Regions from separate parts of the Homo sapiens genome. Here regions 2 and 3 are each linked to region 1. Evidence: promoter capture Hi-C in 16 types of primary human blood cells and fetal thymus (Javierre and others, 2016). All regions are on one chromosome and are shown on one strand. Each heading gives the region's core, a stretch centred on a gene start or on the middle of the fragment in contact. The rest is flanking DNA. Distances are from core to core; before and after follow the strand shown. Region 1 holds the start of POLR1F (RNA polymerase I subunit F). Region 2 overlaps SP4 (Sp4 transcription factor). Region 3 has its middle 170 kb from the start of SP4.

Evidence for each region. The method cuts DNA at HindIII sites, captures the fragments that hold promoters and counts their contacts. A CHiCAGO score of 5 or more calls a contact.
Region 2: a fragment that was not itself captured here is called in contact with the fragment with the promoter of POLR1F in region 1 in 1 of 17 cell types (M2 macrophages); the score reaches 5.2 in M2 macrophages.
Region 3: a contact is called between a fragment that was not itself captured here and the fragment with the promoter of POLR1F in region 1, in 1 of 17 cell types (M2 macrophages). The highest score is 6.3, in M2 macrophages.

What each region holds. Positions count from the first base shown.
Region 1 is chr7:19,706,329-19,711,227 of GRCh38, reverse strand. POLR1F (RNA polymerase I subunit F) reads left to right here and starts at 2,191. Exons shown (of 4, transcript NM_001002926.2): 1 at 2,191-2,465. The coding sequence starts at 2,212. RefSeq lists enhancers at 2,039-2,318, 1,860-2,462, 2,429-2,498, 2,463-3,067. The HindIII fragment of the contact is 8,345 bases long and covers 1-4,899 here.
Region 2 is chr7:21,507,821-21,512,719 of GRCh38, reverse strand. SP4 (Sp4 transcription factor) reads right to left here. Exons shown (of 6, transcript NM_003112.5): 6 at 1-1,698. The coding sequence ends at 1,451. Among named protein-coding and RNA genes, the nearest start is that of DNAH11, 33 kb to the left of the region's middle. The HindIII fragment of the contact is 5,640 bases long and covers 1-4,899 here.
Region 3 is chr7:21,257,566-21,262,464 of GRCh38, reverse strand. No RefSeq gene overlaps it. Among named protein-coding and RNA genes, the nearest start is that of SP4, 170 kb to the left of the region's middle. RefSeq lists an enhancer at 424-1,149. The HindIII fragment of the contact is 7,026 bases long and covers 1-4,899 here.

The DNA of each region.
Region 1 (4,899 bases), core at 942-3,441:
ACTGGCATGCAGGCAGAATCACCTTGTTCGCTCTCAAATCATGCAGAGCATGGATAGCAGCTAATGATCAAGTCAGAATTTTTAAAACTGAAAATGAGAAAATCAGTTTCAAAATTTAAACAAGCAAACTTCTAACTGCAACTGGACATACCTAGGGTTACAAAACTACTGCATGGGTGCACTACATTTACTAGTTGTGAAAGATTATTACTGGAATATTTGATTTCAGGTAACGTTTTGTTTTGATCAAATTGTCATGATGTCCAGCTTGTTTTTTACTAAATTCTTTCTTGGCCAAATTGTTTTCATTCAAATCACTTACAGCCAGTCTAGATCCATCTTGACTGTAAGGTGTAGTCACCTGGAGAGGTTTTGATTGAATTGATCTGTGATGTCATCCGGGCATCAGGAGTTCTTAAAGCTCCTCACCTTAGGTGACTTCATTGTTTAGCCAAGTTTGAGCACATTGAACAAAAGGGTCCTGCACAGGGGTATCACAGGACTTTGCAACAAAATGAAGGTAAAAGCCATTATGTTTCCCATTTATGGACTTAAAAGTGTCTACTATTAGGTTTTGGGGGCAGTCTCATCCCACTATCATCTCATGCTGAGTTTGCAGTTATTTAAGGAATATTAAAGAAAATGCCTTTTATTTATCTTGTTTGACCCTCCTATCATCTCTCTAAGGTAGCAGGGCAAGTATTATTTTTCGTATTTTACAAGTCAGAAATCAGGTTTAGAGAGGCTAAGAGGCTTTTTGCAGTATTTAGGAGATGAGGGAGTATGTTAATACTCACATCACTGCTATACATTTCTCTTGGCACTTATCCAGCATAACCTGTTATATGTTTATGTTTAGATCCCACTTCCACTTAGGCTGTGAGCTCTTTATCACTTATTATTTATTAACTCACTATCAGGTTATTCATTCAAGATGTATTGGTTGGGTTTTTCTTGGTTTCGTTTCTTTGGAGGAGGGATAAATTGTGGGGGGCTACTGTAGTGAACAATACAGATATTATGGTCCCCACTTTAGTGAGTGTAGGAATCTATTGATGGAACAGGCAAGCAAAGACAGTTAATAAAAAATTAACATAAAAACCAACATAGATGGGTAACTACCTAATCCTTATAGAGAAAGAGGAGTGGGGTGCTTGAAAACTCTTTGCAAAGGTATAGAATGTAAAATCTAAGCTAGAAATTCATACATGAGTAGAATTTACCCTTGTGAAAAATGCTATTATATTCCCTGGTGGAAGGAACAGCGTGAGACTGCACAAAGAGAGACCTGAAAGTAGATCAAGCAGCATGATAATATTAGGGTGGGGAGTGTGACAAATGAAGCTGAAGAGAGAGGCTGTGTGCCCACGCAGATCACAAAATGGCCTTGTAACTTATAAGCCATTTTCATGAGTTTGTGTTGTCCTAGAGAAAATGGGGTGCCTATGTAGGGCTTAAACAGGGCACAACACGATCATATGTATTTCAGGGAAGATCTGGCTGCCCCAGAGTGTCCTCCTGACCATTGAGCTAGGCTTCCACAGGCAGGGAGTCCTGCGGTTTTGGCGGCAGGGAAAGAGAATAGTGTCCAAATAGAATGATATTTCCACTTTGGGCAATACAGGTCTTCAGGCTGATTTGATACTTGGGGATACAAAAGAGGATCCGAGGCTGACAGCTTGGCTGTATGATTCCCTGATTTAGCAGTTGCATAATGAGAAGAGAAGCGGGACAGGAGAGAACTAGTGGGTTCGTTTTCAGATGCGTTGCATTACAATTATCAGGCCTGCTTAGGATTCCGTGTACTGCATAAAATATACTCCATAAATATTTTGATTTTTTATTGTACAGTCCAAGCCTGTAAAATTCTACCAAACCCACCTCACTACTGGAAATGATCAAAGTGAGAACCCCCATTTTTAAGCTACCTACTTAATCCAATAAGCCTCTGTGCGAAAACACACATTTGCCTGCCCTTAAAAGAGCAGTCGGTTGGCTTTCCTGCGTGCTCAATGCATTTCCGAGGCTCTAAGCTCCCGTTCTCGAAGCGCGAAAACGCGGTTCCCCCTGCTGGTCAGGGCTGCGTAATGCAGCGAAAAGAGGGGAAATTCCTAGGGGCGTGGTCGTTGGTGGATGGCGTAAAACGAGCGCCGGGGACATGGGATTGTGCTTGCGTCAACGGCGCGCGCCGTGGGAACCTTGACAAGCAGCATGGCTGCAGGTTGCTCAGAGGCGCCGCGGCCAGCGGCGGCTTCTGATGGGTCTCTGGTAGGGCAGGCTGGCGTCCTGCCTTGCCTAGAGTTGCCGACTTATGCCGCTGCTTGTGCGCTGGTGAACAGTCGCTACTCATGCCTGGTGGCCGGGCCGCACCAAAGGCACATCGCGCTGTCGCCCCGCTACCTTAACAGGAAACGCACCGGCATTCGAGAACAGCTTGATGCGGAGCTCCTTCGCTATTCTGAGAGGTACCGATCTCTTTGCCTGTTCCTTCTTTTGTGCACGGGAAGTAAAGCAGGTGGATGTGCTGACGACGCAGCAGAAAGGGGCAAATGGCAAAGGTCGCATTGCCCCCCAGAGCTTAGCCCCCTGGATTTCTAGAGTCGCGATCCGTCCCTCAAGGCCAGTACCGCTCTGGTAAAGATCTATACAGGGTCCCTTTCATAGATAGAGAAGAAAACTTAAAGATGAAGTTCAGGTGTGGGCGGAGGGAGTGGAGATTCTTGCTCCAGAACCCTGGTGTAGGGGTAGGAAAAGACCAGGGATCTGGAGACCTAGTAGGCCCAGTTCTGTTTGGCATTCAACGTTTCATTTATCCCCTTACGGATGATGCTTTCTCATTTGACGATAAAAATCTGGTTTGCAGTGCTTGAGTAGATTCTCATTCCATAGAAGATAGCATACGAAGCATTAGTACAACCGTTCTATTTGTAAAACATGAAGGACCTTTTTTGTTGTTGGATTTCGCTCTGGTAATTTCCCCATTTTCTCTTCTCTTGGACCTGATCTGGGGATTATGAAAATGCCATTAGTTTAGCGGGATTTTGTTGTTTTTAAGAAGATTTATTCAGTCGAACTAGTGAGCCTGTTGCTTTGGGGAGAGAAAAAACCAAAACGTATGCATTTATATTACGGTATTCAAAAGTGACTTGAAAACTTAGAATTACAGAGGTGTGGGGCGGGGGGCGCGGGCATGTGCTTGAGTATTCCTCTGGACTATACTTTGGTTTAAAAGCGGGGTTCTAAAACTAGAGGGAATGGATTCTCTAGGGATTCATGATTGCCCTTCAGGAATTCCTATGTGAAGTTCCTTGGGCACTGCATCGGAAGTTTTTATCAGTTTCTTAAGGGATCCTGGACCTCCACCCATGTCTAGAATCTGCAGATTCTTCCAAGCACCAATATACACTTCTTGTATGTTTATATTACATACCGAACACTTGAGATACAAAAACAAAAAATAAAATCTCTGTTTCAAGGAGCTTTAAGCTGTAGGAGAGATACAAATACAAGCCAATAAATAGTAAAGTGTTAAAATTTGACAGAAATCTAATAAGATAAGGAGTGTAGAATTTGGATCTTGGGACCTTTGAGAACAACTTGATTGAAGAGGGTACTTTAACATGGTAACATTCCAGGCAAAGAGAGTGGCATAAACAAACGGATACTGGATGTGAACTGGTATGCTTTGCCCAGAGAACTGTATCTATTATATAAGTAGAATAAGGTTTATGTCAGGGGAAAGGCATTGGATGCCATTGGAGAGGAGGGCAGGGGGTCAAAGATGACTCAGAGAGGATGGCCATTTTGCTTTTCCCTTCCTGCCATTGCCAGTTTTTGTTATTTTGGGGGTAAGGTGGGGTTGTTGTTGTTTTTCCTTTTGTGTTTCTGTTTTCTTAAGCAGGGTTAGTGCTCCGTCCTCTCAGTCCCTTTAACGCTGAGACTTGGCACACTTTTGAGAAACTAGTACTTCTCTGCAGTCCCTGGCATATCAGATTTGCAGTTTAAGAAACAACATTTACTTAATGGTTAGCTACCAAATAGGATGAGAAAGTGGACAAGGAGAGGAATTAAGATAATGTTATAATTGTCCAAGAGAAAATGATTAGAGAGGATGGATTTGAGAAATTAAAGGATATACAAAGTAGTCATAACATTTGGAAACACAAGCAACTATCTTGTTTTCTGTAACCAGTACTGCCTGCACTTGACAGGCTAGAGGGGGAAATCACGCAGAGTGGCTCTGAACAGATCTGGACACCACTCCTTCCATATTACTTGGGTATGCTGTTTATTCAAGTGCAAATCAGGCACCACACTTTGAACTATGCATTACTAATAAGGGACAAAACATTGAACATATAGTATTAAAGAACTGAAGTGAGGCTACCACCTTGCCCTGATACCTATTTAGGATGGTATCTGAAAAACAAAAGTGAAGGAGGAAAAAGTATATAGTGTTGGGTGCCTGTGTTCACATATCTGATGACTTTTAACAAAATCCCCCTTGAATTTATATACTGCTAAGTTCCTGAAAATTTTAATATATATTAAAACTGTGCAAAGATGACTTTGTGTTGATGTGTTTTAAGAGTTAAATTAGGTGCCTAGCTATTTGTAAATAGATTTGTCCTTTTATTCAAAAGTCAGAGCGAAGGACATTTCCTCATTGTATCAGACTGTCCTGTACATGACAGACTCTTTTCTTCCCTGGCTTCTGCAAAGTTTGTGATAACCATGACTAGTATCACAAATTTCCACATGTCCCCCCTTCCACCAGGGGACCACAGCCCTCCTTCCCCTTGAGAATCACTCTGATACTTGAGAGACAAGGCTTTGATTAGCGGAAATAAAGTCTTGATAATTTGTTTTTCTGTCTAGTATGGCAGTTAATTTTTCTTC
Region 2 (4,899 bases), core at 1,012-3,511, 1.8 Mb before region 1:
ATGGTGGCAGGCGCCTGTTAATCCCAGCTACTCAGGAGGCTAAGACAGGAGAATCGCTTGAACCTGGGAGGCGGCGGTTGCAGTAAGCTGAGATCGTGCCATTGCACTCCAGCCTGGGCAAGAGAGCGAGACTCCATCTCAAAAAAAAAAAAAAAAAGACCCTTTCCTGTAAGACCCTTGCATAAACAATAATATAGTTTTTTTCTTTAGTCACTTACTTCACTGAAAATTATTCTGCCTTTTCAAAAATAAAAGTTTTGCTTCATAATATATCTATTATATATTAGGCTAATTTTTAGGGAAAATTCAGTTATTGATGTAACATAAAAACATTACTGTGTTATAATTCCTAATTACCTTCTTACATAGCACTAGAAATAAAATGGGACTGGCCAATTTTTAGTAGAGGAAAACAAGAATTACAATGTAGTTAAAAGAGAATTTTCTGCTGGCCTTGGAAAAAAGTGTAATTCTTTCTTTGGCTACCACATCAAAGCATAAAGAATTCTGCACATTGTCAACATAACTCATATTTACAAAATATGAAACTACAGAACAATTTACACTCTATGCAAATATTTCCAAATATAAACATTTTAAATGAAATTTTGTGGTTCAACCTAGGGTTAGGAATATAATCAATCCTAACTTTAGAACATTGCATGTTAAGATGCCTCATTTTATTTTTCTGAAGCTATGATGAGTTTTGTTTTAACCATTTTTTTCCCAGCATTTTCCTAAGGTGTCAACCTAAAATTTAACCTAAGATTTAACTCTATGTTCCTCTTGTGTCTCCAAATGGAGAAAGTAATTGGACTTCACTGATTGTCTGCATACACACTACTATAATGTAGTGGTAATAAAGATCTGAGATGCATCTCAGATTACTGTTTTGGAACTTACCTAATTCAACTGTTGAAGAATTTCTAACATTTAGAAAAGACGGCCAAACTATTTTCGGTTGATTTTCCAAAAATCAAGCTAAGGAAATACAGTATTATCCCTATCATCAGTTAACTATCTGTTTTCTGTGCTATAGAGAAAAAGAATACACGTAAATTATTACTGACTGAATTTATAACAAAGTACTTTCAAAGAAAATAAGTCCAATTAAGGTCCAGCCTGCAAACTACTAAGGTCTTTTTAAACATGTTAACACATGATATTAAGAGATGGGAAGATTCTGTATAAAGGTTATGTGATATATTTCCAAACAACTACAACTTATAGTATGGAGGAAATACTTTTCTGTTTCCAGTACATCAGTCTGCTTTTTGTATTTTTTAAAATTCAACACTTCACGTGTTGACCCCAAACCCTGGAATACTTAAAGAAGCCAAGAATGAAAACATAATTTCCTACTCTGTAATCCACTTGACCAGCCCATTTCCAGATTTTCAAAGGTGTGTAAACAAGTGCAGCACTAGAGGTCTCTGTTATAAATAACTTTTCAGAATTCTTCCATGTTGGTTGAAACATTGGGAGTTGCTGGATTCGAATCTTGAGAAATGGCTGCAACTGTGACAATTCTTGGGGAGCCAAGCACCTCTGTAACAGATGAGTCCAGTTCTCCCGAGGTAACAATGGCAAGAGCTGTCCCACCACCTTTTTTATTCTGGTGCGTTTTGACATGTTTGGAGAGATGATCACTCCGCATAAACCTTTTAGAACATTCCGGGCATTCAAATCTCTTTTCACCTACATAGAAAAACAGTAAATGGCGTTATACACATTTTGCTTAAGTGAAATTATAATTTTTAATAATCTCCCTTCTGGTCACATTATATGACTTTTTGTACAGTTTCACTAGTTGCAAAATGCTTTGTTTTATTTAAAAACGTTATCAAATACACAATGCAAAGAGAAAGACCATGTGATTGAGACGAAAAGACCTGAAGTTTAAGTCCTGCTTCTGCTATGAACTGGAAATAAAAGCTGGAGCAAGTAAATAGCCACTGGAACTCTCAGTTTTCCCATCTACAAAGCAAGAGGGTTTTTAGCAGACAATTTAAAATATCTCTATCAGATGTAACAAATATATATAATGTTCAAGGCTCATGTCCACTCTTCTTCAAAACTGCTAACCTGGGTTTTAGTTTTAATCTTGGAGGCATGAAATATCTTGGAACTATTTCAAATAAACTAAGTTAATAATTTAATAGCATACTGAGTTCTTTACAAGGCAAAAATGGGAGGCAGGCACATGCTACATTCAGAATTTAATAAAGTTTTTAGGTTTCATAAGATAACAGTTTCTGTTGTCCAAAGCAATTCTTAAATATGTTTTCTTCAAAATATAAGATAGTTTTACTGGACCGACTTCTTTGTTTTGGAATAAAAGCTAGTTTAATGTTAACTAAAAACAAAAAGGCCTTTTTGTTTTTGTGTATAATAAATGAGGCATATCAAAATTTGGTTAACTGGTTTATCCTGATGTGCACAATGAATAACTGTTAGCCGTAGATCTTCCCTCTAAAATTGTTACTTAAGGGACTGAAATGTTGTTTTCCCAGTCTGATAAAACTTGGGTAATAAGTGATAGGGTTTGGCTCTGTGTCCTCATCCAAATCTCATCTTGAATTGTGCTCCCATAATTCCCACATGTTGTGGGAGGGACCCAGTGGGAGATAACTGAATAATGGGGGTGGGTTCCCCATACTGTTCTTGAGAATAAGCCTCACAAGATACGATAGTTTTATCAGGGATTTCTGCTTTTGTGTCTTCCTTATTCTCTCTTTGCCTGCCACCATCCACACGAGATGTGATTTGCTCCTCTTTGCCCTCCACCATGATTGTGAGGCCTCCCCAGCCATGTGGAACTGTAAGTCCAATTAAACCTCTTTCTTTTGTAAATTGCCCAGTCTAGGTATGTCTTTATCAGCAGCATGAAAACAGACTAATATAATGAGAAAATTCAATTTGGATAATTTCTTTTCTTGGCCCTGCTTTTGACTTACCAATAAAAAAAATCTATAGGCTCAAGTTGGTCCACGTCAGATATTCTCTCTTTTTCTTTACATTCTCTTTTTCTTTACGTGTGTGCTTTTACTTTTGAGTAAACTTTGAAAAAACCATTAGTCTTCCTTATTATTGTTACAAACAAATATTAAAACTTACAGGAGCACTGCACTCAATACAATATTGTATTAAACATCCATCTGAAGTAACACAAAGAAGATGCACCTCCATGTCATACCACACACCAAGATACATGCTACAAAGATTTAAAACCAAGTATTAAAAAAAAAGGAAAATATTTCTATAACCTAGAGTTTGAAGGTACTTTAAAAAGTACAACAGGTTATTTAGAAACTATAAAAGAGAGAATAGACAAATCTGACTACACAAAAATAAAATACTTTGTATGACTTAAGATTCCATAAAGTTAAAGGAGAGAAAAAAAAGGTCAACAGAAGCATAAAAACAGTGTGATAAAATTTAACACATTTTGATAAGAGCTCTTGGCAAACCAGGAATAAAAATTTATTTCTTTTACCTGCTATACCCCTACATATAATTAATGGAGAAACTTCTGAACTATTACTTTATACATCAGGAACAAGATAAGAATGCTATTATATATATCATTACTATTTTCAACATAATATGAAACATTCTGACGAAGCCAACATATAAGACAGTAAAATGAACTGAGGTACAATCACTGGAAGAAAAAAATTGAAATAGATTATTATTTACAGTTATTACTATTTACATAAATAATCTGAGAAAATAAACAATTAGAATAAATTTGTCGTGGCCAGATTCACAATCAATCGATAATAAGCAACACCATCCATTAATTATATAAATCAACATGTAATGCAAATGTTGAGGCTACAGTGAGCCACTGCACTCTAGCCTGGATGACAGAGCACGGCCTTGTCTCAAAAAAAAAAAAAAAAAAAAAAAGTGTGTAGACAAGGCCCTGACCCCAGGTCAAACACAAACTCTATGCCAAGCCACAGTTGGCAAGCCTGGTCTTGGTATCTTATTCCAGGGTCTAGCTAGGTTCTGACAGGAGGAACCTGGGATTTCTCTGTACAAAGGTGGAGGCAGTGGCCTACTTAAAAAAACAAACAAACTGTATTTAGGCTGGGCGCGGTGGCTCACACCTGTAATCCCAGCACTTTAGGAGGCTGAGGTGGGTGGACCCTGAGGTCAGGAGTTTGAGACCAGCCTGGCCAACATGGTGAAACCCTGTCTCTACTAAAAATACAAAAAAAGTAGCTGGGCGTGGTGATGCACGCCTGTAATCCCAGCTACTTGGGAGGCTGAGGCAGGAGAATCGCTTGAACCAGGCGGGGTGGAGGTTGCAGTGAGATTTGGATGCTAGGAAATAAATTACCTGCTGTAACTGCCCCGGGTGTGCCTGCCTACCAGACACTCCATCTTGCAAGACCACCATTAAAAGTCTCGCTTCCATTGTTTGTGTCTCCAAGTCCATTCTTTGGGTTTGGACAGGTGAATCTGTGTTTCTCACAAACCTGGGGGCCTGTCTGGGATCTCTGTGCCTGCATGGAGTGGGACTCCAGCCGAGAGGGCAGAGGTGTCCCACCCGATTTGGGTGGCCCACTCTGTCCGGGCATCCTGGCTCCCCACAGAAGCCACAGACAAACCTGAGACTGTTATTCAGGAGGCAGCAGAGGCGACACAGGGAGAAAAGCAGGCACTGCAGCAACCAGGCAACCTCGTGCAGAAGCCAAGGGAGGAAAATTGGACTGTAAGTACTGTCTTGGTGGTTGGGCATTTTCAGAGGTTGAGTGTGTGTGACTGAGATGTACCCTAGATATGAAGCAAGTGCAGAGTCCCAATCCATGGTTCCGTTCTCCCGTGAGGAGAATGGACAAAGAATGGCCAGAGAATGGATGAAGTGATTCCATGGGTGTGCAAGAAACC
Region 3 (4,899 bases), core at 1,760-4,259, 1.6 Mb before region 1:
TCTCAGCCTAGGGGTACTATCCTCCCGGCAGTCTCTGTTGACGCTCTAACTGGATTGGGCGCCCCTCCTATGTGCTTCTGGCCCCTTCTTCCTCTGTCACACTGTGGTAGTGGTGCATGGCAGGCCATCTCCCCCAGGTACTGTCAGTTCTAGGAGTGAAGGGACTGCTTTGTGCATGTCCTCATCATCTGTCTATTGCTCAGTTAACATCTGCATGGGGAATAGATTCATGAATGAATGAATGTGTGGATGTTTGGGTGTTACACTATGGACATTCACAAAACATTAATAGCTCAAAATTTGTGTTTCTATTTTCCAAATTCCCTTTAACATACACATTTTACAATGTTTGGTTTTCACGTGAACGACAACGTCAAAGGCAAGCATCAGAATAGCAGAATATGTTGAAAAGAGACTTGTTTTTTTCTTTCTGAGATGCAATTTTTATCCCAGTACCACCAGCCATGAGGGTGGTATATTGAGTATTTCCTGCTTTCTGCTCTGGTGGGACCACACTGCCTGGCCCTCTTGTGGTGGGGTAGGATAAGGCCATGTTACTTGTTCTTACAAGAGAGATGTAGGAGGTAATAATAGCACATGTCACTTCCAGGTCAAAGTATTGCTGGTGTGAGCCCCTCCAGAGTTTACTTCCCCTTAGCCACAGTGACCAGAATATTCCAGATATTGCTGTCAGCCAGGTCTCAGCGTGAGAACCACATGAATGAGAGTTCCCTGTCAAATGGAGATGGATGTGTTCTGTGAGCGAGCAGTTAACCTTTGTAATGTAAAGTCACTGAGATCTGGGGAGTGCCTGTTACTGAATGATAAGTTAGCTTTTCCCAATTGGTACTGTGTGGCAAACTTTTCTTCCTTATGCCTTATTCAGAGATAGTCGCTGAGTTCTACAAACTAGTAAACTAAGCACAGAAAAATTAACTCTCTCTCTAAAGATGGAATACAGTATAAATGCTGAAAGATTAAAAAAGGAAGTACTTCTGCTTTGCAACCCCAGTACCAAGTTGGAATGCCTTGTAGGCTTATGTCCTGAGGCTTTCATTTTTCTTTCCCTCCGAGCCAGTTAGACCAACGATGTTACCTAATTGGTTAGTAATTAGATGCAGTTCTTGACTGTGACATTTGGGGTCTTTTGAACATTTTCTATTTAAGTCCAGTGGTTGCAATATCGGGAAAAAAAAAAAAAAAACAGAATGTGGCCAATCATATTACCTCAGGGTTTGTTTTTTTTTTTTAGCCCTAAATGTCAGTAGCTAGATTGATACATATCACTTTCTGAAGTACAGGCTGTAAAACTAGGAGTTATAAATGTCAGTTTTGATGTGTGTTTTAGTGGCTTCAAACATCCCCAGTGGAGGAAACAAGCAGGCTGTTACTATGGAAGTTCCTTGTATTACACAGGGACCTACCAGGACTGGCAGTAATTGGTAACACTTGGAAAATCTATGGGGAAAGCAGTTCCCAGATCACTGAAAAAATCCTGGGCTTAAAATCAGAAGATCTGGGTCTGAGGATCAGCTATTTCATTCTGTGTGTTACGCTACTTTATGAGCATCTTTGAGAGCTTGGGGAAATCTCTTTACCTACACCTCAGCTGCCTCATCTGTTAAATACCAGGCAAAAGGCGTTCTCATGAAAAGTGCATGAGATGATGTGGAAACTCAGAACTACCTAGACTCAACGGAATTAACTTCACTCCTAAGGTTGGGTCCATGGATCATGTACCTGACCAGGAATGATAGCAGATGTAGATGCTACAGACAGACCTCTTGGCTAAATCACGACTAGACAATCCCAAAGGGTAAATATCAAACAGGGGCCATTTTTCATTTTTGGTGTTGGTTCAGGGATCTCTCTCAAAAATAAATGGTGGCCAGACATAATGGCTGACGCCTGTAATCTCAGCATTTTGGGAGGCCAAGGTGGGAGGATTGCTTGAGCCTAGGAGTTTGAGACCAGCTTGGGCAACATAGAGAAACCTCATCTCCATGTCAAAAAAAAAAAAAAAAAAATTAGGTAGGCATGATGGCATACACCTGTAGTCTCAGCTATCTGGGAGGCTGAGGTAGGAGCATCACCTGAGCCCAGGGAGGTTGAGGCTGCAGTGAGCCATGATCTTGCCACTGCACTCCAGCCTGGGGGACAGAGTAAGACCTTGTATCAAAATAAAATAAAATAAAAGGAAAGGAAACTGTCCATCACATAAGTGGCTTACACATCGGTATATGTGGCCATGCCTCAGCCCATGTGCTCTAGTGATTTCTGCCACTCTGGGCAATAAGGGCAAATTTGCATCCACGCCTTTGGTCTTTGAGGGGGAATGGCTCACAGTCTTCCTGGTTTGGGAACCTGCAGATAATAAGGAGGCCTGCCCACCGCAGAAGCATTTGCACAGTGTGAATGCCTGGAAGCATGGTGCTAATGTTTTAGCCAATTCCTCTGGCTCTTCCTCACCATCCCATGCTTGGAGTCTCATCAGTCAGCTCTCATCTCAAATTCTGACATTCACTAAGTTGGGCCAACTAAGAGGGGTGCTTAAATTTGGAGCAGAAATCATTTTGAGGAATAAATTTGGAATTAGCATCTTGGTACTGGCTCCAATTAAACAGTCCCTGAGCACAAGTGATGGAGCATGAGTCCAGAGTATGTTTTTCAAATCTTCATAATTTAGTATTTATAGGTATTCCTAGACATTTTGTAGGAAAAAGAAGACTGACCAGCAAGGGATTATAGTTTGCTTTGCCCTCTGTTAGACTTCCTTCTCTCAGGGCTTTATTTTATTGGGTTGCAAAAAATCTGTCCCAATAAATATTTGTTTGATCTTTTAAATTTGCTTTCCAAAAATTTCCATTCAAATATAGCCAAGAAAAAGATTCATTTAGGGTTTTCTTCATATGTGTGTATCAAGATAAAGATAATATAACCTGGAATCCTCAAAGTTCTTAGACACAGAAGTCTAGCATTAAAATTTGAGTTTGTCTTTTTTTTTTTTTTTTTTTTTTTGAGACTGATTCTCGCTCTGTTGCCCAGGCTGGAGTGCAGTGGCACAATCTCAGCTCACTGCAGCCTCTGCTTCCCTGGTTCAAGCGATTCTTCTGCCTCAGCCTCCCAAGTAGCTAGGATTATAGGCCCCCACCACCACACCCAGCTAATTGTTGTATTTTTGGTAGAGACAGGGTTTCACCATGTTGGCTAGGCTGGTCTTAAACTCCTGACCTCAAGTGATCCACCCACCTTGGCCTCCCAAAGGAGTTTGTCTTTTATAGCAATGTAGGATCTGCTATTTTCTCTCCCTTTGACCTTGAGGTCCTCATTCAAGCAAGGGGGCATTTCTCTCTGACATTTATTAAGAATTTACTATTTGCCAGGTACATGCGTATCTATGCTATTTGAGACTACCAAATAGCTCTGTGAGGTAGATATTTTATCCTCATTTTACTGATAAGAAAAATGTGGCTTGGGTGGACTAAGTCATGCCTAAGGTCACTTGGTTGATACATAGCACAGTTTAGGTTTGGATTCTGGGCATGTCACTCCTGAGTTAGTTGCTGTGTCTCAGTGGCAGTGATAAGATAGGTTCAGGAGTCCTGAAAAGTGGATCTGGGTAAATTTTAGGAAAACATGGAGAGGGAGAAGGGAGTTCTAAAAAGATAATGGGATCAGCAAAGTTGAGATAGTTTGAGGTATATTTACATGTGAGAGGACACAAGCAACTAGTTTGGATACCGGAGTTGTTCTTTCTGGAAATTGCTCTTTCCAGAAACATGGAACTACGCACCAATGAAGAAGGTTGGTAAGTCCATACAGCAGAATCTAACATAGCCCTTAAAAAGCCAAGAGATTAACATGTGGGGTCTGTGTGTTGGCCACTAGTTAATCTCTTTTCTCTTCTAAAAAAATGGGGGAAATAATAGTACCTACTTCATAGGGATGTTGTGGAAATTAATGGAACAACTCATGCAAAATGCATAGAAAGGTGCCTAGCACATGGTAAGCACTCAGTAGATGTGAGCTGTTATTATCTACACATACTGACATGAAAAGATGTCCATGATATCTTTTATATCCATGTGAATAGAGGAGGCTGTGAAACAGCAGAAAGAGTGTGATTCCACTTTTGTAAGTATGTATATGTGTATAGGAAATATCTGGAAGCATACATATCTTAATGTTAGCAGTGTTAATCTCTGTGTTTATAAGATCATTCTTTTCTTTTTTAACTTTTATTTTAGGTTTGGGGGTACATGTGAAGGTTTTTTACATAGGTAAAGTCGTGTCATGGGGGTTTGCTATACAGGTTATTTCATCACTCAGGTATTAAGTGCAGTACCCAATAGTTATCTTTTCTGCTCCTCTCCTTCCTCCCCCTTTCCATTCTCAAGTAGACCCAACAACAGAGTCTTGAGTAGACTCAACAATAGTGTCTGTTGTTTCCTTCTTTGTGTTCATGAGTTCTCATCATTGAACTCCCACTTATATGTGAGAATATCTGGTATTTGATTTTCTGTTCCTGCACTAGTTTGCCAAGGATAATAGCCTCCAGCTCCATCCATGTTCCCACAAAAGACACGATCTTGTTCTTTTTTGTGGCTGCATAGTATTTCATGATGTATATGTACCACACTTTCTTTATCCAGTCTGTCCTTGGTGGGCATCTAGATTTATTCTATGTCTTTGCTAAGATCATTATTTTCTTATAAGCGTGAATAATTTTTATAATTAGGGAAACTTGGGTTCCAAAACCAATAAAACAAAAATAAATAAACAACACAAGGAAAAAAAATCTTTAGCTTCTTTGTTTCTTAATTCCAAGGCAAGTGAGAGAAGAGGAAAATGACAAGGTATAAGTCTCATTTCTGTTACCTTGACCAAGTTATTTAACAT